Linked DNA regions of Homo sapiens: region 2 is linked to region 1. Evidence: promoter capture Hi-C in 16 types of primary human blood cells and fetal thymus (Javierre and others, 2016). All regions are on one chromosome and are shown on one strand. The core of a region is centred on a gene start or on the middle of the fragment in contact, and the rest is flanking DNA. Distances in the headings are between cores, read along the strand shown.

Region 1 (2,700 bases), core at 1-2,500:
GGAGGTTGACATCTAAGTTACAAATATAATGCACAAGCATTTCAAAAAGTAGGGGAAAAAAAAGAAAAAGAAAAAGAGAAGCAGAAAGAAGGGGGAAAAAATCACTCATCCCTGCCAGGCACGGTGGCTCACGCCTGTAATTCCAGCACTTTGGGAGGCTAAGGTGGGAGGATAACTTGAGTCCAGGAGTTCAAGACCAGCCTGGGCAACATGGCAAAACCCTGTCTCTACTAAAATTACAATAATTAGCTGGGCGTGTGGCGCATGCCTGTAATCCCAGCTACTTGGGAGGTTGAGGCAGGATAATCGCTTGAACCCGGGAGGCGGAGGTTGCAGCGGGCTGAGATTGCGCAACTGCACTCCAGCAGGGGCGACAGAGTGAAACTGTGTCTCAAAAAAAAAAAAAAAAAAAAAAATCACTCATCCAGATAGCTAGGTGTGGCCTAAGGAGCTTGCGGCCTACGGAAGGTGTGGCCGAAGGAGAGGGGAGGGGTCATCTTTAATGATGATGGAGGGGAGGCATTGGTCATATACCTGAGAGTCAAGCTTTGTTCATCGTCAGATGAAAGCCAACTTCTTCCACCAGATTGCCTCCCAGCTGCTAGGTAGTTTCCTGTGGTACATCTTAAGCGGTAGGTTGGGATAATAGGTCCCTTCCAGGTCTTAAAGATGTGGATTAATAAGAACAGAATTTTCTACAACAATAAGGAGGATGTCCCCTATTTTAGGTGAATAAGCGTATTGCATAAGCACATGGGAAGAAAGGTTAAGAACTCTAAGACCGTAAATTTCCAGTTGTAGAAGCCTCTTGAAGGCGGAAAGCCCTTTTTTGAAAATTATAGGCGATATGATCTCCTCCAGTGGACCTAGCACTGGGTTAAGAGTCTCTCCAGACTTGTCACTGCAAGTCACGTACCTTTTCTAGGACTAAGTTTCTTCACTGGAAGATGAGGAGGTTGCACTAGATGACCTAGAAATTCCCTTCCAGCTTTAAATTCCCTCTTGTGTCACTTGCTGGACTTGTTCTACTGGACCTGGCGCTCCCCTGCTCCTCCCTTAGCTGCTACGTCCGCATCCCGCACCAGAGGGCGCCACAGGCTGGCCCGGGGCAGCGTGCGGTGGGCGGAGAGGCAGAATTAGGGGAGTCTCCAGGAGGCGTGGTGATTGGCCGCCGCCGGGCGGAAGGGGGCGTGGGGAGGGAAAGGCCGAGCAGCGCGGTGACGTCTCGCTGGCGGGGGCGGGGCCGGGCCGCGGAGCGTGTGACGCTGCGGCCGCCGCGGACCTGGGGATTAATGGGAAAAGTTTTGGCAGGAGCGGGAGAATTCTGCGGAGCCTGCGGGACGGCGGCGGTGGCGCCGTAGGCAGCCGGGACAGGTCAGTCCGAGACGAGAGAAGCGGTCAGGCAAGTGGCGGAGGGAAGCGCCGGGCCTGGGCCGAGGCGGCCAGCGGGACTGGGGCGCAAGGCCCGGCGGCGGGGAACGGGGTGCGGGGAGCTGCCGGGGTCCGCGGACAGCGTCACGGCGGCTTCCTGATGCTCCGGCCCGCTCCGGTCAGCCGTCGTGCGTTGCCATGTAGGCGCCCCGCTGACCCTGCGCCCCCCCGCCCTTGGACCCCCATAGCTGCTTGAGTGAGTCCGAAATACGGGCCTCCTTCCACCCTACTCTTTGCCCCCTCTTGGGCCTGGTGGCTTCGTCTTCTCCCACTTGTGAGAACCCCGTCTCAGGCCCGGGGGCCTCTCCCATTCCCCTCCCCTGCCTCTGACCTCTTCCTTCACCCGTTTCTGGTGTTCCTGAATCCACTGCCCTATCTAGCGAGAGTCTTCTCTGGGATCTTTTCCTCTGTCCCCCTCGTTATCCTTGTCTCCTGCCTTCATCCTCCCATCCTTGCTCTCTCAGGCTTTACTCTCTCTCCCCATCCCTGTCCCCTTCTTATCTGTGGTCTGATCCCTCCTAGTATTATGGGTCCCCATCCTCTTCCCCAGGGTGTTCCTAGGCTTTTTCCAACTCCGTGCCTGCAGTCCCTGTCTCCCTAAGACTCTCACCTTGGTTCCCTGAGAGGCCCTGTTTTTGCTCCTTTTTCCGATTTCCTTCGTATCAATTCTGTCCCCTACATTCCTGTCGCCCACCTCCTTTTCTCTCCCTGTTCCTTTCCCCTGCTTCAGGGAGAAGCCTTAGCTCCACACTCTACTCTACTTTCACTTGACCTGCAGTTGACATAACCATGGGGTGGGGGTGGAGGTGTTCAGACCTTGATCGAATTAAGAGGCTGATTGACTAAAGGAAATAACAGATTGTGTGGGAGAATGTACGTGGGTGTTGCATCAGAGATGATGTCCAATTTGTAGGCCATTCTTCTTATCTCAGCTTTAATACTTCCCCTTTATGGGGCTGTTGACTTCCAGGAACCCTTGGGGGAGACGGCGCTGAGCTGGATGTGTGCCACGGGTAGCCGGAGGCTTTGTCCAATTCTTTTCCCCTTCCAGGAACCGGGGTTTTGTGTCTTTCCACTCTGGATGTGTGGAATACACTTATACCATGATACCCCAGCCTCTCTCTGCCCTCACTCCCACCCTCCACCCTGTGCTCCATCCGAAAGGACTAAGAGAATTCTCCAGAAGCTGTGCTCCAGAAAATACTTGTGGTCCTCAACCTTTTTTCTGTGTACTGGCTCCAGAACTTTTTTTTTTCCCGTTTGAGTTTT
Region 2 (2,700 bases), core at 117-2,616, 280 kb after region 1:
CAAAGCATAAACATTTTAAAGATTCTTCATCTTCAGGATCTCAGTCATAGGTAACATACACCAAGAATAGGCCGGTGCAGTGGCTCACGCCTGTAATCTCAGCACTTTGGGAGGATGAGGTGGGCAGATCACGAGGTCAGAGGATTGAGACCATCCTGGCTAACACGGTGAAATCCCGTCTCTACTAAAAATACAAAAAATTAGCCGGGCGTGGTGGTGAGTGCCTGTAGTCCCAGCTACTCGGGAGGCTGAGGCAGGAGAATGGCGTGAACCCGGGAGGCGGAGCTTTCAGTGAGCCGAGATTGCGCCACTGCACTCCAGCCTGGGCGACAGAGCAAGACTCCGTCTCAAAAAAAAACACACCAAGAATACATAATGTCAATTTATTTATTTATTTATTTATTTATTTTTGAGATGGAGTCTCGCTCTGTCGCCCAGGCTGGGGTGCAGTGGCGCTATCTCTGCTCACCGCAAGCTCCGCCTCCCGGGTTCACGCCATTCTCCTGCCTCAGCCTCCCGAGTAGCTGGGACTACAGGCGCTAGCCACCACTCCTGGCTAATTTTTTGTATTTTTAGTAGAGATGGAGTTTCATCGTGTTAGCCAGGATGGTCTCGATCTCCTGACCTCGTGATCCGCCTGCCTCAGCCTCCCAAAGTGCTGGGATTACAGGCGTGAGCCACCGTGCCTGGCCACGTCAATTTATTCTTACACTTGATCTGGACTTCAGTTTTACTAGCTTATACACAATTTATCAATTTCAGGAGTCTTATTCCATTTGTAATAAAATATAAAACAAGAATATATATGTATACAAATGTATAATATAGCTATTACTAAATTTAAATGCTTTTTATACGTATGTAACTATAGGCAGGTGAAAAAGTTTAAAAGCATACAAAGCCCAGTATAAAAGCAATGCATTATACTTTTTCTTCCTTCTGTAATGTTACACTTTTTTCTGGTTTAAAAAAATTATATAACATATTTTAAGATACAACATTTTAATCACTTAACAGTTTCATTTATAGTAAAGACTATAGTGACCACTTCAGAACATTCTGACTACATAATGTTTTCTCCTTGAGTTTTAAAAAAAACGCTTAATTGTGGGGGGATAAAAAAAAGCATTTACCATCTTAGCTATTTTAAAGTGCACAGTTCACTATTTTTAAGTATATTCACATTGTTGTGCAACCAATCTCCAGAACTTTTTCATCTTGCAAAACTAAAATTTTATACCCATTAAGCATTTCCTCCTTCCCTAATCTTTGGCAACTTCTATTCTACTTTGTTTTTATGAATTTGACTACTCTGGATAGATAACTCATATAAGTGGAATCAGACAGTACTTTTCTTTTTGTCACTGGATTACTTCACTTAGTATAATGCCCTCAAGGTTCGTCCATGTTGTAGCATCTGCCAGAATTTTTCTTTAAAACGTAAATATTCCACTGTACGTTTATATCACATTTTGTTTATCTATTCATCTATTGAAGGACACTTGAGTTGCTTCCACCTTTTGGTTGCTGTTAATAATGCTGCTACAAACATGAGTGTACAAATATCTCTTCAAGACCCTGCTTTCAATTCTGTTGGTTATATGCCCACAAGTAGAACTGCTAGATCAACATGGTAACTCTATTTTTAATTTTTTGAGGAACTTCCATACCGTTTTCCACAGCAGCTGCACTATTTTACATTCCCACCAACAGCGCATAAGGGTTCCAATTTCTCTACATCCTCATCAACACTTGTTGTTTTCTCTTTTTTTAACAGTACCCATTCTAACCGGTATGAGGGTAATACTTCACTGTGGTTTTGACTTGCATTTCCCTAATGATTAGTGATGTTGAACATCTTTTCATATGCTTGTTGTCCATTTTTATATCTTCTTTGGAGAAATTTCAAGCCCTTTGCCCAGTTTTTAAAAAGTTTTTAGAGACAGGGTATCGCTATGTTGCCCAGACTGGTCTTGAACTCCTGGCGTCTAAGTGACCCTCCCACCTAGGTCTCCCAAAATGCTGGGATTACAGGTATGGCCACTGCAACTGGTCCTTTACCCATTTTTAAATTGGGCTATTTTGTTGTTTTTGTTGAGTTATAGGAGTTGTTTGTGTATTCTGGGTATTAATCCCTTATCAGATATAAGATTTGCAAACATTTTTCTCCCATTCCATAGGCTGCCTTTCATTCTGTTACTGTTTGATGCACAAAAGTTTTTAATTTTGATGTATTCTAATTTATGTTTAATTTATGATGTACAGTAATTTATGTTTAATTGTTTTACTTTTGTTGCCTGTACTTTTGATGTCATGCCAAGAAACCACTGCAAAATCCAATGTCATGAAGCCTTTCCTCCATATTCTTTATCTTTTCTTTTTTCTTTTTTTTGAGACATAGTTTCGTTCTTGTTGCCTAGGCTGGAGTGCAATGGTGTGATCTTGGCTCACTGCAACTTCTGCCTCCCGGGTTCAAGCGATTCTCCTGCCTCCACCTCCCAAGTAGCTGGGATTATAGGCATGCGCCACCATGCCCAGCTAATTTTTTTTTTTTTTTTTTTTTTTAGTAGAGACGGGGTTTCACCATATTGGTCAGGGCTGGTCTTGAATTCCTAACCTCAGGTGATCCGCCCGCCTCGGCCTCCCAAAGTGCTGGCATTACAGGTGTGAGCCACTGTGCCCGGCCTTCCTCCATATTCT

The links. The method cuts DNA at HindIII sites, captures the fragments that hold promoters and counts their contacts. A CHiCAGO score of 5 or more calls a contact.
Region 2: a contact is called between a fragment that was not itself captured here and the fragment with the promoter of PPARD in region 1, in 1 of 17 cell types (naive CD4 T cells). The highest score is 5.2, in naive CD4 T cells.

What each region holds. Positions count from the first base shown.
Region 1 is chr6:35,341,308-35,344,007 of GRCh38, forward strand. It overlaps PPARD (peroxisome proliferator activated receptor delta), which reads left to right and starts at 1,251. Exons shown (of 8, transcript NM_006238.5): 1 at 1,251-1,374. RefSeq lists silencers at 1,103-1,312, 1,493-1,632, 1,663-1,712. The HindIII fragment of the contact is 7,732 bases long and covers 545-2,700 here.
Region 2 is chr6:35,625,387-35,628,086 of GRCh38, forward strand. The region is part of intron 3 of FKBP5 (FKBP prolyl isomerase 5); the gene reads right to left. Among named protein-coding and RNA genes, the nearest start is that of MIR5690, 38 kb to the right of the region's middle. The HindIII fragment of the contact is 3,458 bases long and covers 1-2,700 here.